Linked DNA regions of Homo sapiens: all the other regions are linked to region 1. Evidence: promoter capture Hi-C in 16 types of primary human blood cells and fetal thymus (Javierre and others, 2016). All regions are on one chromosome and are shown on one strand. The core of a region is centred on a gene start or on the middle of the fragment in contact, and the rest is flanking DNA. Distances in the headings are between cores, read along the strand shown. Region 1 holds the start of LYPLAL1 (lysophospholipase like 1). Region 2 overlaps TGFB2 (transforming growth factor beta 2). Region 3 has its middle 10 kb from the start of TGFB2-OT1. Region 4 overlaps EPRS1 (glutamyl-prolyl-tRNA synthetase 1). Region 5 overlaps LINC02869 (long intergenic non-protein coding RNA 2869). Region 6 has its middle 19 kb from the start of LINC02869. Region 7 has its middle 27 kb from the start of TGFB2-OT1.

Region 1 (3,919 bases), core at 1,160-3,659:
ACCAGTGTCCTATGGGAGCAAATAAGAGTGAATTAATCTGATCTGAGAGACTGAACAAAACTCATTAACCTATCATTTATTTTTATCATCTTAAAAGAAGGTCCGTCTTTAGTACTTTATTAATAGAAAAGGCTCAAATTAAGTTGGCTACATATAATTTACACTCCCATATGTTCTTCTATGGCTGCTATCTCCTAGAAGAAAATCTCAAGCTTTTAAGGTTTTTTATTTGAAAACACAAAATCTGTCTTTAACAACATTTTTTCAGCCTCGAAGAGTAAGAATGCAGCTGCAAAACAACATCTATCCATTCCCAATGTCCACTTTTTAAAAAGCTAGTACTTTATTCCATAGTAAAAGTGTTAAAACTGGTTAACAGTATGGCAAAACTGAGTGTGATAAAACAGAATTGGTTTGCCCATATTCTAGTTAAGCAGAAACCAAACATCTCCTATAACATAACCACATACATTAAAGTTGAATGTAAAATCACTAGCTGCTAAAGACCTACTGGATGATAAAGACCTACTCCCAACGATAAAGATGATAAAGACCTACTCCCAATAAGGTTTTATTTACTTCAGTGGAGATTTAAATATATAGGAATCACATTATACTCGCATACTTGGCAGAATTCTTTGAATAAATTCTTGGTTCAAAGTACAAAGGAAAAAATACATACATACATGACTCTGAATTTTAGAGACATACCCTTACAGGTTATAAAAATGTAATCTGAAATTCAAAAAAAGGATAATTATTTTAAGCAAAGAGGTCCAGGGGAAAAAAGAACATAGTCTAGGAGTTCTTCCTAAAGATAATGAGAATTGATTATGAGAAAGGGTACAGTGTTGGGGAATTTCTGGGTACTTATAAATGAACACTCTTGGAGCCCTAAATAGTACTACCAGTCTCCTAGTTATTAAGTACCGCTGTCATCTTACACACGTCACCTTCTAAATATATGCCGTCTTTCCCTTTAAACACTATTGGACCTCTTCTTCCCTATCTCCAAAACAATATATCCTAGTTCAAACTTTTTCACCTTACCCCACCAAAGCCCTGAGTTTGAGGTCGGAGAGCTTTGGGTTCTAATCCCAAATCCGCCACTACTCACAGTAACAGCTAAGAGACCTTGGCCAAGCTGCTGAACCTGTCTGGCCTCATTTTCAAAATAAAGAGAATACCTCCCACAATTGCCCTTTTCCAGGTCTCTGCCCAGTACCTTTCCAATTCCCTTCCAATCACCGTCCCATTTAAGCCTACCCGTCTCGGCTCAAAGACCACTTTCTTCGAAAAGTCTGACAAGCTTTTCATCTTCCAAATGCCTTAATAATGCCTAACCACATTTTTTTCTCTTACAATTCACTTGGCAGGAAACCATGCACCGTCTTGTGATCTTCCATGCACTGCTGACTCAAACTAATTGGATTGTTTTTGTTTTTAACTTTAGGTAGGCCCCCTGAGGACACCGGCTGCATCTCATTTCTTTAAAAAACATTTCCTGAGAGCTTACCCTGGGCCAAGCACTGGGGGTGCAAAGGTTGACACAAGGGCCCTTACTCTCATAATCCAGTGGGAAGTTCACAATCCAGTGGGGAAGACAGACAAAAGTGATTACAGATGAGTGTTAAGTAACGATACAGCATTAAGCACACGTTACTAAGGGCAGGTAGTGGAAGATGCCTGTCCCTGGGGGTCCTGCCCCTGTAGTCTATCTTGGAAGTTTAATGACACAGGCGGGAAAGGGAAAGGAAGGAAAGAGAAGCAGCAAAAAGGAAAGTGAGAGAAAGCACTCCAGCCATGGCACAGTGGCTTACAGAAAAGAGATAATCTGTAAACAGTATCTAAGTTAACTGTGAATCTCAATTGTCTACATTAGTATGGGAGCCTGGAAAAAGCAATGGGCAATTACGACTGAAAAATCACTAGTAGCTGATAATGAAAAACACTAAATAATTTCCCTCTAGCAGAAGACTTACCTTACTAACTTGCTCTGTTTAAACTTGGGGCGAGGAATGGGGAGGTGTGTTGTGGGGATGGAGGGCTGGCTGAGCGGCGGGACACAAGGCCCCAAAGCGAGGGTGGTGGACCAGTGACCGCCCGATAGAAAGAGGAAGACTAACGGGGGAGGCTGGGGGCAGGTGGCGCTGCCCGTGCATCTACAGCCGGGGCTGGCGACGGGGGAGCCACCCACTGGGCCCTATTTGGGCCCGGCGACACCTCCACTTGGGCAATACTGGGGTAACCGAGGGGAGGATGTTTCCCGAGCTGTAGAAAACCAGGACGTAAAATTGAAATCCACCTGAGCCATGCAGGAAGATCAGAGAGGCGCTATGCCTCCCTGCCGGCGACACGATACAGCGCTGCAGAACCGACCCCGACGCAGCCGCCATCGCTGATGCCACTGCCAGTCATGCGGTTCCGCCCCTGCGTTGCCGCGCGGGGCCGCGCACGCAAATACGCAGGCACGCGCGGGAGCACGCCCGGGAGCGCGCATGCGCAGCGCTGCTGGCCCGCTCTCTGAGGAGCTTTCAATACTTTGGGGTCAAGTTTGAGGCAGTTGTAACTGTACTGAGTTTAGTTTTGCTAATAATGGTATTCTACGTGTGTCAGCCTCGTGTGGACTTCTGTAATGACTAATGGATATGTTTATATCCTGAGCATTTGCTGTAGGAATTTTAAATGCAATCCCAAAACTCAAGATTACCTTATTTGGAGAAATATTCGTGTTACTATGTTTAAAATTTAATAGAACCATATTTTACCTTTCACTTTGGGACTCGCACAGGATGTTTGCAGCTCTTGATATACAGGGTAAGCGAAGCATATAATAATAAGTTCTCTTCGTGTCTCTTATTTTTAATAAATAGTTTACAAAGCAAATCTAATTTAATGAGATTCTGCTTTATATACCCATTAGAATGGCTCTTATCAAAAAAACAGAAAATAAGTATTAGTAAAGATGTGTAGAAATTAGAAACCTTGTGCATAGCTGATCAGAATGTAAAATGATGTTGCGGCAATAGAAATAATTTGGTGGCTCCTCAACAAGTTAAACATTGACTTAGCATAGGTACTAGCAGTTCCACTTCTAGGTATATACCCAAAAGAGATGAAAGCAGGGACTCAAACAAATACTTGTACTTCAGTGTTCTGTAGCAGCATTATTCACAAGTACCAAAAAGTGGAAACAACTCAAATGTTCATCTACAGATGGAGAGATAAACCAAATGTGCTATGTACATATTGGAATGGAATATTATTCAGCCTGTAAAAAGAATGTGATTCGGATACATGCTACAACATGGATGAACCTTGAAAACATTATGCCGAGTGAAGCCAGACACAAAAGGACAAATAATTGTATGATTCCACTTACATGAGATATCTAGAATTGGCAAATGCATAGGGACAGAAAGTGAAATTAGAGGTTACCAGGGACTAAGGGAAGAGGGAGTTGGGAGGTTGTTGTTTAATGAGTACAAGAGTTTCTGCTTAGATAGTGAAACATTTTTAAAAATGGACAGTGATGATGGTTGTACAACAGTGTTAATAACTGCCAGTGAACTATACACCTAGTAAATTTTATGTGTATTTTACCATAATTTTAAAAATACTAAGAAATGGAATTATTTCCTGTATAAAGTCCAAAACATAGGTATCTTTTAATACTGAAGGCAGTGGCCCCAGCAGGTTGCTCTTGCCTCATGTAAAATTCAACAAAATAACCCAGTAAAAGCTTAAGTACCATTAAACACTGGCCTTCCATTCATTGTAGTCTGCATTACATTTTAGCAATTACAACTTACCTTTTATTTGTTCCAGGTAATCACCCTACTTACAGGTAAGTAAACTGTTTACTATCAACATTAGTTGCCAAAATCAGCTCTAAGCTATCATGGTGTTATATTAATAA
Region 2 (4,049 bases), core at 270-2,769, 810 kb after region 1:
GCCTATCAAACTGTTTGCTAAAGGAAAAACTCAGCATAAGGCAGGTCTGTTTGAGATTCTTGCTATAGAAATGCAGTTGCCAAGTGCCATCCTGATGCATCACGAAGACCTCCTCACTGAATTTCCTACTTCCACCTTGGCCATTCAACATACCATTTTTTTTTTTTTTTTTTTTTTTTTTTTTTTTTTTTTCTGAGACGGAATCTTGCTTTGTTGCCCAGGCTGGAGTGAAGAGGCACGATCTCGGCTTACTGCAACCTCCACCTCCGGGGTTGAAGTGATTCTCCTGTCTCAGCCTCCTGAGTAGCTGGGACTACAGATGCATGCCACCATGCCCAGCTAATTTTTGTATTTTTAGTAGAGACAGGGTTTCACCATGTTGGCCAGGATGGTCTCGATCTCTTGACCTTGTGATCCACCCGCCTCGGCCTCCCAAAGTGGTGGGATTACAGACATGAGCCACCGTGCCCGGCCCAACATACCATTCTTAACAGCTACACGGCCCTCTGGCTAAAACCACTCTTCTCTCCGTTTTAGTCAGAGGAAAAGCCACAGACTTGATGATGGCCTACAAGGCCCCACATCACTTATCCCTCATTATCTCTCTAATCTCATCCCTAGGATACTTTTGACAATCCTTGAACATGTCACAACAGAACCAGCTATTCCCTCTGCCAGAATGGAACAGAATAGAATGCCCTTCCCCAGGTAGTCCCAGATTACTCTCTAACATCCTTCAAGTGTCTGCTTACATGCACTCCCTTCTTAACAAATTCATCCATGCCCAGCTTATATAAAATTACACCTCACATCCTCATCCCTGTGACCAATCTCTACTTCCCCTGCAAAACATTTATCCAATTCTAAATTCTTATTTCATCTTTATTATTGATTATCTATCCTATGCCACCAGAATGTAAGCTCCCCATGGGCAAGGATTTTTGCTATTCAATTCACTAGCAGCTAGACTGCTGCCTGATACAAGTAAATACTCAATAAACACAGCTGAATAGGCCGGGCACGGTGGCTCATGCCTGTAATCCCAGCATTTTGGGATGCCAAGGTGGGTGGATCACCTGAGTTTAGGAGTTCGAGACCAGTGGGGCCAACATGGTGAAACCCCGTCTCTACTAAAAATTAGCCAGGTGTGGTGGTGTGTGCCTGTAATCCCAGCTACTCGGGAGATTCAGGCAGGAGAATTGCTTGAACCCGGGTGGTGGAGGTCGCAGTGAGCCGAGATCACGCTGCTGTACTCCAGCCTGGGCAACAAGAGTGAAACTCCGTCTCAAAATAAAATAAAATAAATACAGCTGAATGAACTAATATATCATAAGAATGTCCTCTCTTCAGCCGGGCACGGTGGCTCATGCCTGTGATTCCAGCACTTTGGGAGGCTGAGGCAGGCGGATCACGAGGTCAAGAGATCGAGACCATACTTGCCAAGATGGTGAGACCCTGTCGCTACTAAAAATACAAAAATTAGCTGGGAGTGGCGGCGTGCGGCTGTAGTCCCAGCTACTCAGGAGGCTGAGGCAGGAGAATTGCTTGAACCTGGGAGGCGGAGGTTGCAGTAAGCTGAGATGGACCACTGCCTTCTAGCCTGGTGACAGAGCGAGGAGCGAGACTCCATCTCAAAAAGAAGAAGAAGAAAAAAAATGAACGTCCTCTCTTCACCTTTCTCTTCCAAAGGTCTCTACATGCATTTGACATTTATCTTAAAATTATATCTGTATTTGCAGTTAATGTACAGCTCTTTTAACTGAAGACTTATGCGGAGGTAAAATGAACACTATCAAGTCATTCTTCTCACACTTCAATCAGATTATTTAGTGATGTAGACCACATACGAGAACTGGGTATTTCTGTAAATAGTTCAATAGCCAAAAAATCTACGGTAGTTATAGAATATCCATACTGTACAGTTGTCTTCAAAGTATTAGGTGGTTCAAAAACATCAGAATACCAGGGGGCACAGGGTTGCACAAAGAAAATACCAAGTGATTTATCATTAACTTTGCTTCTTAATAGGTTGGTCAGATTCTTGCCTGCTCTAATGCCTCTGGTTGAACAAAACACTGTTTGGAAAGAGAAACCTGCAGTTACCCAAAGCTGAGTTTGGCTGAGATAGTAAAGTTTACATTCCATTGTTTGCTAGGTCCTTACCCCATGGAATGTCTCAGAACACGATTCAGGCCACCAAGAGGTCAGCAGCGCTTTGGCCAAATGCTACCTCAGGGAATTACATATTACCTTATACATGGTATGTGTCACTTATGCATTAAACACTAGCTTTGAAAGTCCCTTCCCCACTCCACCGTTGCCCGGTTGAAGGCATCTGAGTGCAGAAATACATAACATCCAACACCCACACACGATTAATTTACTTCCTTGCACACTCATTGTTCTCCTCTGTGATGAACAGTGAGCAGAGGGTATGTGTGGTACTCTTAATAACAAGTAATATTATTAAAAACTACCTCAATATTTGCCTGCATTTGGGAAAATGGAAAGCACGTGGCAAAAACTCCACAGGGGCTGTAGGTTCAGGGTCACACTTGAAGGACCAGCTGATCAAACAGAGAGTCCACTGGATCTGAATCCATCCATGTGGTATGACTGAGTAAACAGATGTGCATAATCAGAGCATCCTTTGACTTGAGCAGCTGCAAACTTTAGTGACGTCAGAAGCACCTGCAGTGCCTGTTTAAAATGTGCAGAGTCCTCAGCTCCACCCACCCCAGTGATTCTGACTTGGCAGCTCTGAAATGGGGCCAAGAAATCTGATGGATGTCCCAGGAGACAGAAATGCATATCACACTTTGAGAAACACCACCTCGGGTCAGGCGCAGTGGCTCATGTCTTATAATCGCTGCACTTCAGAAGGCTGAGGCAGGAGGACTGTGTGAGGTCAGAAGTTTGAGCCCAGCCTGGGCAATATAGCAAGACCCCATCTCTAAAAAAAAATTTTTTTTTTAATTAGCCAGTGTGGTGGTGCACACTTGTGGTCCTAGCTACTCAGGAGGCTGGGGTGGGAGGATTGCTTCAGCCCAGGAGTTAGAGGTTACAGTGAGCTATGATCATGCTACCACACTCCAGCCTGGACAACAGAGAGACCTTGTCTCTGTCTCTAAAAAAAGAGAGAGAGAGAGAAATACCACCTTTAAATCTTAACCAAGTTACTTAAAAGCCTCTTATTCAGTAAATACTCTTTTTAAAAAATTATATTTGCCTTCATGACTATTAATCCATTCCTTCATAGAGAGACTTATCTCTACTGCTTACACACTGGATTCTTATGTCTTAATAGGAAAACCTTTAGGCAGGCTAACCACATCTTAACCAATATTATTGGGGATAATAAGCTTGAAAAGAGAAAAATGATTTCGCAGTCACATGGCTGTGAGGAGCATGGACTATTTTCTCCTCCAGGGTATTTAATTTAAAGCTGATGCAGCATCAGAGCTGCCAGTCCAATTGTCAGTGTCAGAACACGTCGTTATCAACAACACCCAGGTTAGAGTGAGAAAAGCAAGAGGCGCCACAGGCCTCACGCTCACTTCAGCCGCTCCCAACATCTCCTTGGAATGGAGAGGCGGTTCACGCAAGGTGACAGGGATGGCCCTGGAGCTGCTTGGCACAGGCCAACTTCACTTAACGAGTGTTCAGAATCACACTCAGCATGGAGAAATTCACCCTGACCCTGGATGCCTGCCCCCTGGCATACACTCACTTACATTTTTACTCAATTACTATTTCTAAGAACAGAGACAAAAAAAAAAAAAAATGCAGAGCCCCACTGCTCAGCAGCCTTGCAGGGAAGGTCTGAAAGGGGTCTGCAGGGTTTTTCCAGAGCCTGCGAGCTAGGCAAGGTGGAAGAGCCTCCCACTGTTATGGGAATCTATGTGGAGCTTGCGCCCCATCTCCCCTTCCACACCCTCAGACACTCCTGATTTTCCCTGACTCGCTGAGGAGCAGGGTGGGTTTCCAATGCTTTTTCACCAAAGGAAGACAGAAGCTCGCAGCAATTAAGTGACCGAAAATAACCCCAA
Region 3 (4,353 bases), core at 1,122-3,621, 720 kb after region 1:
CTGAGCTCACTGGCAGCCAAGATAAAAACAGATAATCTATGCATTTTATTCTTATAATCTCATTTAAGAAAGTTTCCTGTGACATCAGGAAAGATTTATATTTTATTAACAGTTGACTATAAGAGAAATTATTATGTGGTATTTTATGTGTGGAACCATAAGGAACATAATAGAGATCATATTTTAAATTTTTACCCAAAACAGAGATGTTTCTCTGGCAACCATTTCTCATCTTCTCTCAATGCTGTCCAAGTGCATAATGATTTGCTTTTAAAATTGAATAATATTTGTAAAAACAAACTTAAGTCACCCCCACATACAATAGATCATCCTTGATTTAGTAATCTATTGTTGCTTTATCATAAGTCTATGTGGGTTTTTGGATTTATATATTAAATTTCTGTGGATAGTCTATGTGGTTTAATGTAGTATTTTATTTTGCTGCTATATATAATCATGATGTATGCTGTTTCTTTTTTGTTTGTTTTTCGAGATGGAGTCTCGCTCTGTCGCCCAGGCTGGAGTGCAGTGGCGTGATCTCGGCTCACTGCAAGCTCCGCCTCCTGGGTTCATGCCATTCTCCTGCCTCAGCCTTCCTAGTAGCTGGGACTACAGGCACCCGCCACCACGTCTGGCTAATTTTTTGTATTTTTAGTAGAGATGGGGGTTTCACCGTGTTAGCCAGGATGGTCTCGATCTCCTGACTTCATGATCTGCCCGCCTCGGCCTCCCAAAGTGCTGGGATTACAGGCGTGAGACACCGCGCCTGGCCTGTTTTTTTTTGTTTTTGTTTTTTTTGAGATGGAGTCTTGCCAGGCTGAAGTGCAGTGGCATGATCTCAGCTCACTGCAACCTCCCAGGTTCAAGTGATTCTCCTGCCTCAGCCTCTGAAGTAGCTGGGACTACAGGTGTGTGCCACCCTGCCCAGCTAATTTTTGTATTTTTAGTAGAGATGGGATTTCGCCATGCTGGCCAGGCTGGTCTGCAACTCCTGACCTCAAGTGATCCACCTGCCTCGGCCTCACAAAGTGCTAGGATTACAGGCGTGAGCCACTGTGCCTGGCCCAACAATGTGTACTGTTTCTCGGTAGAGAGAGTGTATAAATTCATTCTGCTTAAGGAGAGAACATGAATTTTTAAAATAGTGCCAAGACAGTATGTTGACTGTGGTATCAGAAATAATTTTTTTTAACAAAGCTTGAAAAGATTGCACTGAACTTATTAAACATATGTGATAATAATTTAAAACTCTTCAAAAGCTGTTTACATACCAAAAGCTGACAATTAAAAATAGTTCTTCTGCGTCTTATCTACATCATTTGTGTGATTTCCCAAAGCTTCTATTATATAACACTTTGTTCTAGAGTCACTGCACACTGAATACTTGAAAACATTGACATTGCATTCTTAAATGATAGCTTGCATTTAGACTTCCTATTAATTCAAATGGTTCAATGAATACATCCTATAATTATACTTGCATAGATACTCAGGGGATAAAAATAGGTCAGTGATCAGAGAATCAGGCCCCTAGAACTATGGAAATTTCCACAACCATCCATGGAATAGGCTTCCTTTTTGAACTCCTGGTTGATTTTTCCAAAGATCATAGAAACCTTGAAATAGCATTTTGTTTGTGTGAGAGACTTAGGTAAAAGTTAATGGTATTTGTAATTAGAAAATGATGTCACAGCACCTTCTCCAGAAGGGATTTTGGTTCACTACATAATTTGTGCACGTTGTACATCGGATGATTAGTAGATTGTCATGGAGGTGGGGGCAGACAGATTCTTTCCATGCACCTCTGTTGCACTTTATAGTGTAAGGGCTGCTTTCAGGCTTTGATGTCACTGGATGTGACTTGAGGTTTTGAACTATATTTGTCAGAAATGGTTCCTGAGTTTTGCAAGTTCCAGCTCAGGTGGTCCATGTTCAAGTGTTGTACCACGAAGATCAACCACATTTAGCCACACTGCACAGCATCCAACACACCACCATGTCCCACCTAGACTTGTGGAGGTTTTAGGCAGAAGACATAGTAAGACAGTACAAGACAAGAGAAGTTGAGGAAGAAACTTCTGTTTGAAGGCTTCATGCACAACTCCAATTGGTTCCCTTTATTGGTAAAGTTTTCCTTTGTTGTTTTCTTTCTGGTCTCTTGAGGGCTTGACCAATAACTCATGGAATGTGTCAGCTCTAATTGCCGGTCTGGATTGGCACAAGTCATGCCTCAAAATTGGAATGTTGTCACATATAACATAGTCCTGCAGGGGGATAAATGTGGCCTGGAAAATGTTTTATCCAAACATTCCTTAAAAACAACTGTGTTCTGCCATGGCAAGAGACAGACAACCTTTAAGAACCAGCTGAGTGAACTCCCAGGATGCCAAAGTTTCAACAGGTGTCAGGACACCACTGTCTTCCCCTTCCCTTAAAAATGCAGATGCCTTCCTTCCTCCAAGGACATCAGACAATGGCCAATTCCCCTCTGGGGTGCTCTGGCACAGTTGTAGCCAGGGCAGCTTTCCAAAAGAAGTGGGTAATTGGTGAGTTGTGAGTATAGAAGAGGGATCTATGAACCTGGGCTGGCTTTGGTGAGTGCCTCCTAATTGATGAGCAACTTACACAAGTGTTGCCTGATGGCCAGGTAATAGCTGTCAAGCAAGCATCATTGGAATGGGTTTGAAGAAAGCATAGAAGCTATCTGTAGGGGGAGATTTGCCACTAAGAAAGATGTCATGAGGTAAGCATATAACATGATTAGGGAGAAGAAGAATGGACACGGACATCTGTGGAGCACCTATTGTGTGCTAGGCACTATGAGTTGACATTTTCACACATTTTATCGCACGACTCCAGAGGTCAAGTACTTACATTCTCATTGCAACGTCTGTTTTCTTCAGAAATAAACTGTGGCAATCTGGTCCCTGGCAACCAATTAAGTAGTAAATACTGGGCTACGCAGACAAATCAGTTCTTTGCTTATTCATTCTCCTTTCCTCTGCACCAGGCAGACAGGTGCTGGGGAGGAAAACAGATGCTTGAACCAAACACTACAACATAGTAGGGAAAACATTCATTTCAAATGTAGTAAGCTCAGATAATGTTCCTCTTACCTCAGAAACATTCCTCATTAAAGGTGCATATGCAGATACCAAAACAGTTGTTGAACATGTAAAAATAATAATTATTATTTTGGCTACCTAAAACTAATCAACTCATTAATTTAATTTTTGGAAAAGAAAATTGCAGAATTGAATTGCTCTTTTTAACTGAAGAGACTGAGTTGGCTGGGGACTACTAGCAAAGCCAAAACCATTAGTTGGGGAAGTAAAATCAAAAGCTGCCACCAGGGAAGGGCTCTCTACAAGAGAAACATTCAAAAAAGTTCCCATAGAAAGCTTCAAGCCCACAGGAAATGTCTAGTTGAGATGATGGATCACAGACTGCCCCAATCGCCAGACTTCCATGGCAACCTTTTGCAGGCACCATCATGTGAAGGAACAATTCTCCTTTTTGTCCTAGGATACGTCTTTTTTGGGAAATGACAAACCGTGATCTTCTAAACATTTCATGTTTGATATTTGACATTTTCCCAAGGCCTCCAACCCTGACCTTGCCATGCAATAGAATGGGGAGAAAGATGCTTCTTTTTTTAGAGATGGGCAACATTGCTTTTAGAGATCTGGGCAGATATACAACCATCTCTTAACAGAGCATGGAGTTGATATGATTGAGATTCCTGGAGAAGTGAGTATGAGTCTGTTACCAGACCACATCATAGATCCTCATCTTCTGATAGTAGTTCAAATATTTGCAGTTATCATGAAAATATCTTTCATTGAAATGGCCTCATTTTTGCGAAGATTTCCTCATACATTTATATCCCACTTGGTTAGTAATTGACAAATGCTAGCATTGTACTGCATCAGATTTACCTGGAATATATTTCTCCTTTACTATAAAATTCCCTTTCTATTCCCCCAAATGGTCTGACCCAGTAGGTTTGGGATAGACCTGAAAATCTGTAATTTTAGAAGCTGTCAAGGTGACTGTTGTGTGCCCTGGTTTGGGATCAGTGAGTACAGGGGGAAGTGCCCATCCATACAGAAATGTGCGAGGTTTGCTCTGAAAGTCTACAACTCTAGACTTTTTCAAAGTGTCTTACAAAGAAGACCGGGTTACAGAGATTGATCTAATTGACTCAAATTTTTCCCCATTACTGGCAGAAATATCTGGCCTTTAGCAGGTTGGTAAAGCCCATTTTTCATTCAGTTTATTATTCCTTGAATTTCCCCAGAAATAACTATTAATAGTCACTCTCTTCTGCAGTTCAGAGTTAAATTGTTATAG
Region 4 (3,755 bases), core at 1,214-3,713, 830 kb before region 1:
AGAAAAAAAGAAAGAAAAGCATTAACTTAGTGCCATTGAATTTATCTAGGAATTCAGTGTTTATTGCTGTTCAGATAATTTTGTTCAAATAAACTATTTTGTCCCTTTATTTTCTTTTTAGCCCATATAGTTGCAAGGAAGCCCCGTGTGTTTTGATATACATTCCTGATGGGCACACAAAGGAAATGCCAACATCAGGGTCAAAGGAAAAGACCAAAGTAGAAGCCACAAAAAATGAGGTAATGACTTTTACGGATATGTGTATAAAAATAAATGGTCTTTCTATCCCAGGGTTTAGAATATATTTCTTTACAGATGATTATCTTTCTTACTGTGGAGACTGAAGAAGACAGTTAAGTCTTGCTCTTTGCATTTTGTTGTTATCCTTTCATGTAAGATTTTAAAATCTCACTCTCACCCAAGGCTGGAGTGCTGTGGCGCGATCTGGGCTCACTGCAACCTCCGCCTCCCGGGTTCAAGCAATTCTCATGCCTCAGCCTCCTGAGCAGTTGGGATTACAAGCGTGCACCATGACGCCCGGCTAATTTTTGTATTTTTAGTAGAGACAGGCTTTTGCCATGTTGGCCTGGCTGGTCTTGAACTCCTGACCTCAGGTGAAACTCCCACCTCGGCCTCCCAGAGTGCTGGGATTATAGGCATGAGTCACCGTGCCTGGCCAGACCCCTTATACTCTTAAGAATGATTTGCTTATGTGGGTTATATTTATCAGCATTTATCATACTAAAAATTGAGAAGTTTTAAAAGGATTTAATTCATGTAAAAATAATAAATCCAGTTACATGTTAACATACGAAAAGTTTTTATTAAAAAAAATTTTCCAAAATAAAAATTTTAGTTAAAAGAGCGGTATGGTTTTAAATTTTTACAGATCTCTTTAATATCTGACTTAATAGCTTCTAAAAACCTGTACAAACAGTCATGAGAGAATGAGAGCGAAAAAGACAAAATACATCGTAATATAGTGAAAATAGCTGTGACTTTGCAGATCCCCTTTAAAAGGGTTTTATATACCCCTTGGGGTCTGTGGACCACACCTTGAAAATTGCTACTATATATTATTCAATAACTCATGGAGTAAGCATGAGATGGGAAATTTGGTTGCTTTTCCCTCATTGGTTCCAGTTCCCATCTGTGCCTATCATTTTTTACATATCCTAGAAAGATAACTGGTGTTATGCTATAAGTTAGTATGTGTTCTTGAAAAACTTCATGTTCTGCAAAATCACATACCGAAAATAACAGCCGATTTTTCAAGAAAAACAGAGTTGAGGCAAACCACTAAAAACCTATGTATCCCATGTGGTTTCAGTCAGATGGTGGCTGGGTAGCAGTCATCAAAGACTCAACTGGGCTGTATTCTATTTTTATTTTATTTTATTTGAGACAGAGTATTGCTCTGTTGCCCAGGCTGGAGTGCAGTGGTATGATCTTGGCTCAGTGTAACCTCCACCTCCTGGCTTCAAGCGATTTTCTTGCCTCAGCCTCCCAAGTAGCTGGGACTAAAGTCACGCACCACCATGCCCAGCTAATTTTTTTATATTTTTAGTAGAGATGGGGTTTCGCCATGTTGGCCAGACTGGTCTTGAACTCCTTACCTCAGGTGATCTGCCCACCTCGGCCTCCCAAAGTACTGGGATTATAGGCATGATCCACTGCACCTGGCCTGGGCTGGATTCTAAAATTGTTTCCTCACCTGGATGCCAAGTTGATATTGGTGTTGGCTGGGAGCTCAGGTGGAATAGTTGACTGCAATAGCTGCAAGTGGCCTCTCTAGCATGACAGTGGCAGGGTAATAAGACTTCTTAACTATCATTTAAGGCCTCCAAAAGTGAGTGTCCAGTAGATGAGGTGGGAGTAGCATTGCATTTTAGGATTTAGACTTGTAAGTCTCACATAACATCATTTCTGCTGTACTCTGTTGGTCAAATCAGTAACAAGCTTTCTCAGATTCAGGAAAGGGCACAGAGATCCCCCTTCTTGGTGGGAGGAAAGTCAAAAAATTTGTGGACATGCTTTGAAACCTGCACACTTTTGAATAGAAATTCAATATTCAGGTACAGTTGACTGCCACTTATACCCAACTTTGCAGTCAGAGATCCTTTGCAGCTTTAAACCTGAAGGATAATAATGCTTTTCCCTGTGATGTGTAGATCTTTGAGGATATTTTTCTCCAATAGAGGCTGATACTATCAAAATTAAATTCTCATCCAGGGCTTAATGTTATGGTAAAAAATGTTTTTTAAGCATCATCCTCATTAAAGGAAGGCACTTATATGAAAGGTTTTTGGGTTTTTCTTCAGATTGTCAATGTATTTCTAAAGTTTTCTCTTTAATTATGAAAAGCTTGTTCCTGCATGCTTCTTTATTTGACATAAAACTGGAATACACAGGGAAAAAATCACACACAAGGCAGTGTGATTTTTTTTTTTTTTTTTTTGGTGTTACACTCATATGTTCCCCTGTTTACTAACCATGAATGAGATGATTTATGTTGCAAATTAAATGTAGCAGAACAGGCCAGGCGCAGTGGCTTAAGCTTGTAATCCCAGCACTTTGGGAGGCCGAGGTGGACAGATCACGAGGCCAGGAGATTGAGACCATCCTGGCCAACATGGTGAAACCCTGTCTGTACTAAAAATGTAAAAATTAGCTGGGTGTGGTGGTGCAGGCCTGTAATCCCAGCTACTTGGGAGGTTGAGGAACAGTAATCACTTGAACCCGGGAGGCGGAGGTTTCAGTGAGCTGAGATCACACCACTGGACTCCAGCCTGGCGGCAGAGCAAGACACTGTCTCAAAAAAAAAAAAAATGTAGCTGAACAAATATATATTTTTGATATAGGGTGGCTACATGAATTGTATTATTTATTTAATGTATATGCATTTATATATGCATATTAGTGTTTGAGTGTACATATAGAATCTCACTAAAAATAAATATGAGTGATTTAAGGAATTATGGGGAAGGAATTTTGAGCGATGGGTTTTTTTTACTGACATGCCCACTTTGAGAGCCTAACGCCTGTGTAAAATGCAACTCTGATACAGCTTGAGATGCCTGTTAAGTGTCTAGGTAAAGATGTCTTGAAGACATTGAAAATGCTGGGTCTGGGATCAGGACAGAATTCTGGAATAGAGATGAAAATTTTTGGAATTTGTACATAAGACTGTGAATATGGATAAGATTATTCTGAAAAATTAAGTGGCAGATCATTTAAAAGAAAAAAGCTGAAAGAAAGGTATAATGTGAGCTGGGTTTTAATGTTAGAAGGGTTTCAGTAGGGAAGAATGCAGTCTAGGCAGCAGAAAGCATGAATAAAAATAGTATCTTTATTCACTCTTCAGGGTTGATTTTAGTGAACATAGCTCTAGATTTTATACACAAATAGATACCTGTAAATTTATAATTTTACACAAATGAAACTGTTCCACAACAATGAGTTACAATTATATCACAGAGTTTGATGGAGCTCTTGCCTTATCAACAATCTAGATGTATTTCATCTCTAAAAAAATTAATAGTGATACCTAATGCTTATTGATATTCACTTTTTCTCAGCCTTTGTGACTAAGGGCTTTACACAGATTACTTTTTATTTTCCCATCAACTTGATGGGTTAAGTATGGTTATCCCCCTTTTATAGTAAGGAAACAGCTTAAAATAACTCAAAGTTGCACAGTGAGTATGTGGTAGAGCAGTGATTTATTCTCAAACTTGATGGATATGTTATAATTT
Region 5 (4,163 bases), core at 31-2,530, 650 kb after region 1:
ATTAAAGTTCCCTGCTCGCAGCTCTCTTGTCTCCCTGTCTAAAACACTTGTTCCTCGAATATTTATTTAACCTCTGCAGACTCAGTTTATTTTTGTCTTTATTTTTAGCAGGGGGTGGTGGCACGCACCTGTAGTCCCAGCTACTTGGGAGGCTGAGGCAGGAGAATCATTTGAACCCAGGAGGCGGAGGTTGCAGTGAGCCAAGATTGCACCATTGCACTCCAGCCTGGCAACAGAATGAGACTCCGTCTTAAAAAATAAATAATAAATAAATAAATACAATAAAAAACTCACACCATTAAACAACTCTCCATTTCTCCCCTCCCCCTAGCCCCTGGCAACCACCATTTTACTTTCTGTCTTTATGAATTTAACTATTCTAGGTACCTTTCTTTTATAAGCATCTAGAATATACCTTATCATATATATATATGGAATCATGTGATATTTGTCCTCTTGTAATTGACTTATTTCACTTAGTATAATGTCCTCAAGGTTTATCCATGCCATGGCATGTATCAGAATCCCCTTTCTTTTGATGGCTGAATATTATTCATTCTATCATCTATCTATCTATCTATCTATCTATCTATCTATCTATCTATCTATTTATCTTTCGATGTATCTATCTATCTGGATATGTGGAGCTGTCCCATTGATGGACTTTTGGGAAGTTGTTTGTTTTTATTGACAGACGTTTGTGGATCTGTTCACTAAACTGTTGCCACCATGCAGACACAATGTCCCTTCCCCCTAAAATGAATTACATTTTTACATCCAAAAAAAAAAAAAGGGAAATAGGTCGGGTGCGGTGGCTCACGCCTGTTATCCCAGCACTTTGGGAGGCTGAGGCAGGCGGATCACAAGGTCAGGAGATCGAGACCATCCTGGCTAACACGATGAAATCCCGTCTCTACTAAAAATACAAAAATTAGCTAGGCGTGGTGGCGGGCGCCTGTAGTCCCAACTACTCGGGAGGCTGAGGCAGGAGAATGGCATGAACCCTGGAGACAGAGCTTGCAGTGAGCCGAGATAATGCCACTGCACTCCAGCCTGGGCGACAGAGCGAGACTCTGTCTCAAAAAAAAAAAAAAAAAAAAAAGAAAATAATTGCTCACATTACATTTCCCATAAAATGACCTTGTATGACCCAATCAATATACAAATATTTTGACTTTTCACAATTCAGATGTCTGAATCATTAGATTCTACTACTCATTTGATGTAAATAAAAAGTTATTCAATTCCTAAAGATTTATTCGCAAGCCAAATTCAATGTCCACGCTTTTGGAAATTCAAACTATAATACTATGGAGCTAGCTTTTGGATATTAAACTTTAAGGAAACCATGCTTCTTAAAAAGCATATTAACTTAGCCCTGGTCCACAGCTGCATTGCTCAGAGTACTTGTATACTAAAATTTGCTTTAAAAAGGAGCCAATTTCTTTCTTTTCCATATGCGATCTGTTACACTAGCAATATTCTAAGTGTAACGAGGGGCTTGGAAATGGGAAGATCACTAATTTGAATCTAGTATTTATTGATAAAATACAGGACACCCAATTCAATTTGAATTTTAGATAACCAATGAAGAATGTTTTAGTATAAGTATGTCCCATGTGACATTTGAGACATACTTATGTTAAAAAATTCTTCATTATTTATCTGAAACTCAAATTTAACTGGACATTCTCTATCTTTATTTGCTAAATAGGACAATCCTATGTGATTCCTACCCTGATCTGTAGGAACTTGAGCCAAGAGACAGATGGAAAAGATAACTGAATGAAAGTGTGCTAACACTAGGGGGCGCTGCAAGAAACAGAGTGAGGCCATACTGGGAATTGAAGAAAGAACAGTAAGGTTCTCCTGGCTCCACTGTGAAGAGCACTTGAGGAACACATAGGAGAGGAGTGACTTCGGCATGTATAACCATCAGAGCCACATAAACCAGCCCCAGCAGGGACAGGGCGCAGCCGCGCAAGCCAAGTCACTAGCAACCAGGAAGCCTCCAAGTCCAGCAGCCAGGGCAACAGAAGCAGCAGCTATGGCTACTGAGCAGCTGATCAGATGCTGGCCTCCACAACCACCAACAAAGAATTTTACTGGCTTCCAAGAAGGACAACTGAGCCTCCCAGGGATCCTGCCAAAGAGGGTTGAGTGGATATCTGGGAACTAAGTTTCTAACAATTCTGGTGGAGTGGTGGGGGTACAATTCAAAGCCTCTTTATAATCCCACTGGTGTGGCCTCCTTCTTGCCCCCACACACAGACATATGCACATTCCCAGAGTGACGCTCTCAAAAGCCAAAGCTAACCGGACTTCTCAACAGCAGAAAATATATCATTTGCACCCCCACAACTTCCCAAAGTAGCCTTCTCCATGTTCTGCGTTGCTCTTCCCAACTTGCCTTCCAACATAGACATCTCCACCAACTCAGATACCTCACTGAACCACCCGCCCCGTCTTCCAGATATAAGGGAAAACACTTCAAAGTTAAAAAGACAATTGTGATTCCAAAAATGATTAAAAAAAAAAAAAGGTCTGTGCCAAAAATAACAGCAACAAAAAGTGTGTTAAGATAAGTCTTACTGGCCAGGTGCAGTGGCTCACTCCTGTAATCCCAGCACTTTGGGAGGCCAAGACGGGTGGATCACCTGAAATCACGAGTTTGAGACTAGTCTGACCAATGTGGAGAAATCCGTCTCTACTAAAAATACAAAAATTAGCCGGGCATGGTGGCCCATGTCTGAAGTCCCAGCTACTCCAGAGGCTGACTCAGGAGAATCACTTGAACTGGGGAGGCAGAGGTTGCAGTGAGCCAAGATCATGCCACTGCACTCCATCCTGGGCAACAGAGCAAGACTCCATCTAAAAAAATAAAAAACAAGAGAAGTAAGTATTACCAAATGCCAAAGTATCAGTTCTAAGCAAAATGTTCTTTTTTTCAGACACTTCCTTTTCTGGATCCTTAAGAGAAATACAGGAATTGTAAATAACAGAGTTGAAAAGCTAATAATCTCTTCGCATCTTCCCTCTGGCTTCAAATTTCACTCACGTTCTCTGTTCAAGAAACTTGGCAGCTTGGAAACCAGGTACTGAAATTACGCGAAACTATAGTGTTATAAGTGTTCACACATACTATAAGTGTGTACACATACTATAGCTATCCGCCAGCTACACATACCTTTCCTTAGAAAATGACAAATCCATTTGAAATCAGGGTGAAACATTTAGATAGGCTTAACACTTATGTGTCCCGAGTCTCTCTTATCAGAGGAAGAAAATATAAAAATAACGAGTCCTAGGCTTACACAGTGACCTGAGCCACAAGCTGGGTGCAAAAACCCAGGTTTTGGGTTTAACCAACAGAGGAGAAATACTGGCTGGCTCTTCTGAAGAAAATTACTCACAATGCATTGCTAAAATTTATTCTTGAGAACAAAACCAGAAAGAAGGGATGAATTGGGACATAGAAAAAAAAACTTAAGCTTGATTCAGCTATCAACCGAGAGACCCTAGAATTGATGGTGACAGAGCAAACAGCAATTGTCCAGGGAGTACTTAAAACCACCTCTGTGTGTGATCATTGCCTCTATGATATGATTTCAGGGTTCTGGGAAATGTTTCTCATGTTGGTTGGCCATATATACCAGGCATTGCCAATAGTAACTAATAAAGACATCTATAAAAAATGTATAAGGAAATAGAAAACAAATACACAAATACACCATATTATTGCAATTTATGTTTTCACAAAAAACTCCTGTCACATTGCAACGTTGGTCAAAAAGATCTTCAGAGCATAACTCTGGGCAGAACTGTTCCTGCTCCTGGAAAAGTGAACCACAGTTTACAGCCAACACCCCAGTCAGAATGTCTTCTTGCCTTTGTCTAGTGCTTTGTAGATTACAAAACTGTTCTGTGAACATTTTCTCCTTTGATTCTCAGAATTTGTGTGTGTAGTGGACATTATTATTACTATTTTGTGTTTAAAGGAACCAAAGATCTTACCTACTTCTTCCAGCTTACTTCCCACCACATTCCTCTTATCTCTCTCCCCCAACCTCTCCAGGCTCCCTCTGGCCTTCCTCACACTTCGTGTTCTCAGCAAACTGAAATTCTCTGAATTCAAGTTCCCTGCTTGCAGCTCTCTTTTCTCC
Region 6 (3,943 bases), core at 299-2,798, 680 kb after region 1:
CCTGTTAAACCAAGCACTTTTAGAGGATCCCTTGAGGCCAGTAGTTCATGAGGGCCGTGAGCTATGATGATGCCACTGTACTCCACCCTGGGCGACAGAGTGAGACTATGTCTCAAAAACAAACAAACAAAAAAAGAATTTCCATTGATAGATCGATGGTAGCCAATTCCAAGCAGATGCTTTGTGTAGGGCACTCTTCTTACGTGCTGAGCATACCAAGGAGGAAGGTTCAATCCCTTACCTCAATCAAATAGAACTCTAGTTAGTGAAAATAGGATGTTTTTTAGAAGATTAAAAATTAAAAAGTTAACAAGTGCCTTCAGCTAGGGGACAAGTGAATGGGTCACAGGCATTGACAGAATGGAGAGCTCACTGGAAGCCATCCCAGAAGAGGAAGAACTTGACCTGGACACTGAAGAGCAGACAGGACAAATCACACCAGAGATTCCAAGTGTGAAGACCAAGACCAGAGGAGGAAATTTACGAGGATGCTTGGGGAGTCATCCTAGGATGCCTTTGACACTGTCCACCTAACAGGGTAAAATCCAGTGAAAAGGGGACCACCAGACAAATCGTCATAGAGACTCCCACACAGTGCCTGTCTGTCTGATTTCAGCTGAGTTTTTTCCCAAATTCCATCAAAACAGACAGTAGATGACACACCGATTATTTGCTTTTTGTATGTATCCCGCAAAAATTAGTTAAGGAAAAACACAGTCTACGTGTAAATTTTTCCATCTGCAACAGAAGGAAAATGTATCTGTTCATACCAACTAACCCAAGATCCAACAGAATGAACCAGTGAAGGAGGGAAATGAACTTAGTCGTTTGTAATATGTCTGTCAGGATAAATTAAATGCACATAGCTACACTTTGATATACCTGCCCTCAATTCTTTCAAACCAGTTTCAATTACTTTCTCACCATACAGTAATATTCATGAGTATATTTCTGGAAGATTTTAAGTATTTCACAAGTATTAACTCATTTTATCTTCACAACCACCCAGTGTGGTTAGTATTGGTGTTATCTCCATTTAATGGTTGAGAAAACTGAGACAGAATGAGGAGAGGTGACTTAACTAAGGCTGCAGCAGGGCAAAGGAGGAAATGGCATTTGAACCTAGGACATCTGGCTCCAGAGCTATACTCTTAACCTTTACATTTTACTGCCTACCTAATGTGTATAATAAACCAGGGGCCAACAAACTTTTTCTGGAAAGTCCCAGGTAGTAAGTATTTTTGGCTTTGTGGGCCATACATTATCTCTGCCTTTACTACTCTATTGTGTCACTGCAATGGGAAAGCAGTCACAGACAATATGTAAAAGAAATGTGTAGGCCAGGCACGGTGGCTCATACCTGTAATCCCAGCACTTTGAGAGGCTGAGGTGGGTGGATAACTTGAGGTCAGGAGTTAGAGACCAGCCTGGCCAACATGGTGAAACCCTGTCTCTACTAAAAATACAAAAATTTAGCCAGGCATGGTGGCATGCTCCTGTAGTCCCAGCTATTCCGGAGGCTGAGGCAGGACAATCGCTCGAACCTGGGAGGCAGAGGTTGCAATGAGCTGAGATCGCACCACTGCACGCCAGCCTGGGCGACAGAGTGAAACGCTGTCTCAAAAAAAAAAGAAAAGAAAAGAAAAGAAAAGAAAGAAGGAAGGAAGGAAGGAAGGAAGGAAGGAAGGAAGGAAGGAAGGAAGGAAGGAAGGAAAGAAAAAGCAAGCAAGCAAGCAAGCAAGCAAGCAAGCAAGCAAGCAAGCAAGCAAGCATGGCTGGATTTGACCCATGGCAGACCTGACCAAGCCCTTCCATAATTTGCCATTGCAAATTAAAATAAGGTCACTTTTCATAAATTTACATAGCGTGAAAAAGATCTTGCTTGTTAGCCTTTTAGTCCCCATTTGTGAACATTCATTTATTTACTCAGCAAGTATTTAGTGAGTCCATACTCTGGGACAGGCACTTTTTTCAGGTATTAAAATAACATCAGTAAACAAGATAGTTTCTATCCTCTGGAGCTGTATTCTGGCAGAGGAGACAGACAATAGGCAAACAATAGAGATAAGCTAGATAGATCATAGAACAGTAGGTAGTAATAAGTGCTATGAAGAAAAACAAATCAGAGCAAGAGACTAAAGACAGGCAATGGTTGCTACTGCAGGGTGCGTGGTCAAGGAAGGCCTCCCTGTTGGGGAGGTTTCTGTAGAAGTAGTCACTGAAGTCTGGGAGTTGGATGAGATCTCCAAGAGTGTACATGTCATTCAAAACTGAAAAGTGAAGGATTCAGCAAAGAAGGCTAAGAAGAATGCTTCAATAAGGAGAGTGAAACCAACTGCAACTGCATTGAATACTGCAAACATTCACACGGAGGAGGTCTGAGAGGTGCCCATTGATTTGGCAATGAGCATGACCCTGGTAACTTTAATGAGAGCATTTTCAGAAGAGGGAGGAAAGCCCAATTAAAGGAGATTCAGGAGCAAGTAAAAGAAAGAGAAAGGAAGACAGTGAGTGTGAAAAAATTATTTCCAGAAATTCTGCTATAAGGAAAAGAAGTAGAACAGAGTAGACAGAGGATAGTATAGTATAAAGGAAATATTTTGCTTTGGGCTTTTTTTTGTGTTTTTTTAACTAGGAAGACATAATATACAATATGCTTTTATATTAATAGAAATAGTCTAGTAGAGAAGATGAAATGGATGAAGTTGGGACAAAGAATAAATATTCTTGTGTTTGATGTTGTTATTCACCTGTATAATGGGCATTAAATGTAATTTAGATGTTTTATGTGTTGATCTTCACCTGTAAGAGATATATAGTGTGATTTTCATGTAACACAAATCAGTGAGCTCAGCACAGAAGCAGGGCTGGTATTAATATGCACCAGTACAAACATAGCAGTTGTCTATGGTCAGTATCTGTTCTGACTGTTGAATGCATTTCTAGTGAAATATTTTATTTATCATCCCTGCTCAGTGTGCTTCACTATATAATCTTAATTTTTACACAGTCATTGTATAATATAATAAAATTTCTTTGAATTTGAAAAGAATCTTTGCTTTTCAATAGAATTCACCAAGAACAATGAAATAAAAACAACAACAACATTGGATTAGAACATCAGACATGGGTTACCAGTTTTCTGTTTATTGGTTGATTTTAGCTAGAACACATCTCCCTATTACTCTATCTACATTTTGGGTAGTCATCCTGAGTTGCTTGCTGTGGGCATTTTTAGAAATCTTAGGCCACTCTAAGTAGAATGGTATCTTATACCCAAGCCATTGTGTTTTTGGGTTTGCTTAACTGATCTGAGGTTAATGCAAGTGCAGAGCAAACAAGCTTTTGCCCATGTAAGGACTGATTGCGAGTCCTGAATGTGCAGAACCACAGACAGGATTCCTGCAGAGTTTATGACATTAGACCTGGTTGGTGGCGGGGGTGGGGGGGGGGGGAGCAGCTGCCACTAACTACATTCCTGAGATGTACAAATGCCTTTGGAGGAAAGGTATCTTGTTTGAAGGAAATTCCAGAATCATTTGTGAATTCCCAGGTCTGGGGACAAAATCACGAATTAAGTGGGCATCCTTAAATTCCTATTGACAACACATAAAGAATAGTATCAAACTCCCTTAAAATGTTGTCTTTTTAGTATTTTCTCATTTTATTTTATGCTATAGAACATACACATTTAGAGTGGGGGTGGAGAGGGAAGTCGCTGAATATATTTGGAGTAGATACATGGTGAGCTCCTTAAAAGTAGTCACCTTGTCAGTTTTGTATCGAACCAAATGGCACTTATGCAGGTGTTGTATGAATGAATGAATAAATAAATAATTGGGCAAATATATACCCAGGAGTCCAGCTTTGGGTAGATTGTATCTGGTCTCTCACTCACTGTTTGTGTGGTCAATACTGTGTAGTTTACTCATCTTTCCCTCGT
Region 7 (4,029 bases), core at 22-2,521, 700 kb after region 1:
TTTAGCGATAATGAAATGAGATACTTATTCTGGATGGGCCTCAAAAACCAATTCTGAAGACGATGTTTAAGCAGAAACACCCCAAAAATATCTTTAAAGCAAAGACATCTTTATTAGATGAATAAATAGCCTTTCAGTTAATCTTTACAGAATTTTAGAATTTACAGTTTAGGAACTTTGAAAATAAATTTTTCCAATGTCCTTATTTATAGAAGAAGAAGGAAACAAATTTAGAAAAGTTACTTTGAAGAACAACATTCAAATTGTAAAATCTAATGTTTGTTTTAAAACCTCTCTCTCAGTGGTAATAAACAATAATGAATTGCGCTCCAGTACACATCTTGTAAATTACATTGAGTATAGTGACTTTAAGCCAGGAAGGGTAAGATCTGGGAAGTTTGGACTTTTTAGGCCAAGCTACCGGTTCAGATGACTTCTCAAAATCTCTTCCAGTCCAAAACTCCATGATGCTATGTAAAATCAGCTGGAGTCAAAGCCAAGTTTTGTAAATAGTGGTAACTACTTACTGAGTGCTTCCTATATGCCTTGCAGAGTTCTCAGCCCTTAGCTCATAAAATCTTCACAACAATCCTATATGGTAGTTAATGTTATTCCTATCTTATAAATGAGGAAACCTAGGCTTAGAGATGTTCGCCTAAGTTCACATGTATAGTTAGAGGCAGATATTGGATTCCCAATTGATTGGTTAGTTAAGATTCAATCAGAGAAAATTATTAAGAGTGATATATATTTGACATCATACAGTTAGAGGAACGGGCTAGACTATTTACTGCTGTTGCTTTTGCATTTGGTGCTGGGCTTAAAGTCCACAGAGCAGGCTGACAAGAAAGAAAGACAGACATAAAGTAGGGAAGAGCAAAGACAAACTAAATCCATGAGAATAAGCTGGAATCTATGAGGATGAACTGGAACCTGTGTTATCCTCTCACCCCCAAACCTCAACTTCAGTGATATGTGTATAACCTGCAGAAGAACTGGCTTACTTTGCCACAGTGCTCCATATGAAACTGCTCAGGTAGCATTCTCAACTTCCAGTTTACTGAAATCATTACTGTGCTCACTCCTTTGGAAACTAAAACCTCTAGACTAACGGAGCAGGAACAGGAAACAAAAATTCCACTAGTTTATGTCTAGGAGAATAACTATTATTCCCATAGAGAGGATTTGCCATTCCAGGATTCGAGAGGTGCATTTGCCTAAATAGGTAAATCTTATCTCTGGCAGAAAGAGCATTATATATTAGTCAGTAATTAGAGCAAATAAAACATCCTGGAGGATATTACTTTTGTCTTCCAAGTTATTTACATCCAGTTGGCACGGTATCCGAGTCTTCAAAAGGCCATCCCACTGTTCTACCATGCCGACTGCTTTATAGTGATTGGGAACATAGAAAGACCACTAAATTCCATGAGTATGAGCCCCACGTTGCACTTAATTTGCTGTAAACTGAATTGCTTTGTCAGCAGCAATGTGTAGTGATAGCAGCATTCTGTGAGTTCATAGATGGTAGTATTGGCACTACAGGAAGTTAAGGCAAATCTAAATCTAGAGTAAATGTCTGTTCTAGTAACAACAAAGTGCTGGTGCTGTCTGTAACCTGATGGAATTGATCCAATATAATCAGCCTCCAACCAGGTGCCTTCTTAAACCCACCAGGTAGTGGTGCCATACAAGTGTTGTTCTTGCTGTTGGTAGGACAGACCCTTAGCAGTGGCTGAAGCCAAGTCAGCCTTAATGAGTAGAAATCTATGTTGCTGAGCCCATGCATAACTTCTACCCTTTCTTTTATGCCTACTTTCTTCATAGAGCCCCTTGGGCAAGGATGGGGGTAGCTGGAGAGAGAAACTGACTGATGTCCATAAGACAGGTTATCTCATACACCTGATCATTGAGATCCTCCTCTGCTTAGACTGCTCTTTGGTGCAAATTCAAAGAGGTCCATCGACAAATCTTTTCCCCAGACCTCTTTTTCACTAATTTTCTAATAGGGCTTCTTCAAAGTCCCTAACCTTCCAGATATACTCATAGATACAGTCAATGAGTCACTGTACATCCATACTTTTTGCCCTTTCTCCTTTCAAGCAAAATGAGCAACTAGGTGCACTTGTTGAAGTTCTGCCTGCTGGTAGGTTTTTTCCTTACCACAGTCTTTAGGGCCACCCCAGAGTGGGGCTATAGGGATATAGCTATCTACTTTTGGGCATTGACCACACATCATCAAGAGCGATCTATAAACCAGGCTGAAATCGTTTCTTCTTTAGTCAACATCTGTGCCTTTGCATGTGCAATTTACCTTTGCCTTCAATACCTGCTTCAAGCTGATCTCATTTATACCATTTTCCTTTAATAATGGAGCACTTCTATACACATATGACTTTTCTTTTTAAGAGATGGAATCTCATTCTGTTGCCCAGCCCAGGCTGGAGTGCAGTGGTACAATCATAGCTCACTGTAACCTCAAACTCCTGAACTCAAGTGATCCTCCTGCCCCAGCCTCCCAAGTAGTGAATAGCTAGAACTACAGGCATGTGCCACCAAGCCTGGCTAATTTTTTATTTTTAGTTTTTTGTAGAGTCGAGGTCTTGCTGTGTTGCCCAGGCTGATCTCAGACTCTTTGCCTCAAGCAATCCTCCAGCCTCAACCTCCCAAAAAGCTGGGGTTACAGGTGTGAGCCACTGTACCCAGCCGCACACACATGACTTTATGAGAAAAATATGTGTGTCTCCATAACCCATAATCTTAACTATTGTGCTACACTTCTGTCATAACAAACAGGAACTAGCATATTTAACATAGAAGAAAAGGTCAGGTGACCATCATTCTTTTCAACATCACTGTAGACATTTATCGTGTTAGCACTTCTAATTACGAGTATAAAGCGGAATTAAAGGAAGAGCTATGACTTAAGCAGCTTCTGAGAAAATAACAATAGAGGAAGTCTGATTTACACTCTTGGAGATAATGACCTGTGACTAGTAACTAACTACACAGGAGAAAAGATCTCCCAGATTATATATAATTTAAATTCTAAGTATCTTTTAAAGTAAATAAGTGTTTCACAATTTTTTTTCTGTTAATGACACATTCCCATAGTAAAAGAATAAAGGATTTGGTCTCTTCTTGACCTTTTAATTTTCTTCTTAGGCTTTCTAAAATAAAACTTTATACAGATGATGGTAATTGCTCAAAAAACATAACATTTATTCCATCACCAACCTCAAAACATTCTGCATCATATTATGACACTTATAAACTATGGGTATCTGATAAGCTTGGTTGTCCTTTTGGGAGGTTCTAATTTATTTCAGGCAGGTTTGACCCCTGAACTTATATACAGAAAATAAAAGGAGAGAGAAGAAATTCCTTCATGAAGTACAAAAAACGAAACAAAACAAAACAAAACAAAACATGTTGCAGGAAACAGAGTGCAAAGACGACACTGGAAAAAGCACAGCTGTAATGTCCATGTTGCTACTTCACCCATCATGGACCAAAGGAAGGCTCCCTATAAGTGGAAAGGTTGTACACCTATGAATTAAGAGACAGTAGCCTCATCAACATTATATACGTAAGAATAACAAGACGTCATTTTCTTCTAAAAAGTTCTAGCATTGCATTTACAAAGATTAAAATATTAAAAATGGAGTCAGCTATCCCTTGAATTTTCCTTCTAGTCTTCTGGGTGACTTTTACACTCTGGGCTTCATGATGGTGGCTGTGACCTGCAAATCTTGGCTCTATTCCCTAAGCTTCTAGTATCTTGGGATTTCTCTAGGTTTTTTATTTGTATTTTTTTCTTTTTTCCTGTATGATTGTCCTACTCTGGCTACCAGTTGACATAAATGAGAAATGAAGATAAAAATGCAGTCACTGTCAAGGGTATAAAAAAAAGGAAGTGATAACAAGCATAATCCAAGAATTGCAGTTACTGTCAAATGCAAGGAGAATCTAAGAATTGCAGTTAAGCGAGGGCATTAATGCTTAGCTTTGGAATGGATCATCAAATTT

Evidence for each region. The method cuts DNA at HindIII sites, captures the fragments that hold promoters and counts their contacts. A CHiCAGO score of 5 or more calls a contact.
Region 2: a fragment that was not itself captured here is called in contact with the fragment with the promoter of LYPLAL1 in region 1 in 2 of 17 cell types (endothelial precursors and megakaryocytes); the score reaches 5.7 in endothelial precursors.
Region 3: a fragment that was not itself captured here is called in contact with the fragment with the promoter of LYPLAL1 in region 1 in 1 of 17 cell types (M0 macrophages); the score reaches 8.9 in M0 macrophages.
Region 4: a fragment that was not itself captured here is called in contact with the fragment with the promoter of LYPLAL1 in region 1 in 1 of 17 cell types (total CD8 T cells); the score reaches 5.4 in total CD8 T cells.
Region 5: a contact is called between a fragment that was not itself captured here and the fragment with the promoter of LYPLAL1 in region 1, in 1 of 17 cell types (M0 macrophages). The highest score is 7.5, in M0 macrophages.
Region 6: a fragment that was not itself captured here is called in contact with the fragment with the promoter of LYPLAL1 in region 1 in 2 of 17 cell types (M0 macrophages and endothelial precursors); the score reaches 7.0 in M0 macrophages.
Region 7: a fragment that was not itself captured here is called in contact with the fragment with the promoter of LYPLAL1 in region 1 in 3 of 17 cell types (M0 macrophages, monocytes and M1 macrophages); the score reaches 10.2 in M0 macrophages.

Annotation. Positions count from the first base shown.
Region 1 is chr1:219,172,368-219,176,286 of GRCh38, reverse strand. LYPLAL1 (lysophospholipase like 1) reads right to left here and starts at 2,409. Exons shown (of 5, transcript NM_138794.5): 1 at 2,306-2,409. The coding sequence starts at 2,396. LYPLAL1-DT (LYPLAL1 divergent transcript) reads left to right here and starts at 2,499. Exons shown (of 5, transcript NR_038845.1): 1 at 2,499-2,817. RefSeq lists enhancers at 2,119-2,448, 2,529-2,578. The HindIII fragment of the contact is 2,433 bases long and covers 1,312-3,744 here.
Region 2 is chr1:218,365,400-218,369,448 of GRCh38, reverse strand. The region is part of intron 1 of TGFB2 (transforming growth factor beta 2); the gene reads right to left. Among named protein-coding and RNA genes, the nearest start is that of TGFB2-AS1, 22 kb to the right of the region's middle. The HindIII fragment of the contact is 3,691 bases long and covers 1-3,364 here.
Region 3 is chr1:218,450,713-218,455,065 of GRCh38, reverse strand. No RefSeq gene overlaps it. Among named protein-coding and RNA genes, the nearest start is that of TGFB2-OT1, 10 kb to the right of the region's middle. The HindIII fragment of the contact is 2,064 bases long and covers 1,340-3,403 here.
Region 4 is chr1:219,997,622-220,001,376 of GRCh38, reverse strand. It overlaps EPRS1 (glutamyl-prolyl-tRNA synthetase 1), which reads left to right. Exons shown (of 32, transcript NM_004446.3): 17 at 122-239. Among named protein-coding and RNA genes, the nearest start is that of EPRS1, 47 kb to the left of the region's middle. The HindIII fragment of the contact is 193 bases long and covers 2,367-2,559 here.
Region 5 is chr1:218,519,416-218,523,578 of GRCh38, reverse strand. It overlaps LINC02869 (long intergenic non-protein coding RNA 2869), which reads right to left. Exons shown (of 3, transcript NR_146760.1): 2 at 129-226. Among named protein-coding and RNA genes, the nearest start is that of LINC02869, 11 kb to the right of the region's middle. The HindIII fragment of the contact is 4,426 bases long and covers 1-3,493 here.
Region 6 is chr1:218,488,629-218,492,571 of GRCh38, reverse strand. No RefSeq gene overlaps it. Among named protein-coding and RNA genes, the nearest start is that of LINC02869, 19 kb to the left of the region's middle. The HindIII fragment of the contact is 3,592 bases long and covers 1-3,344 here.
Region 7 is chr1:218,467,777-218,471,805 of GRCh38, reverse strand. No RefSeq gene overlaps it. Among named protein-coding and RNA genes, the nearest start is that of TGFB2-OT1, 27 kb to the right of the region's middle. The HindIII fragment of the contact is 4,047 bases long and covers 1-3,294 here.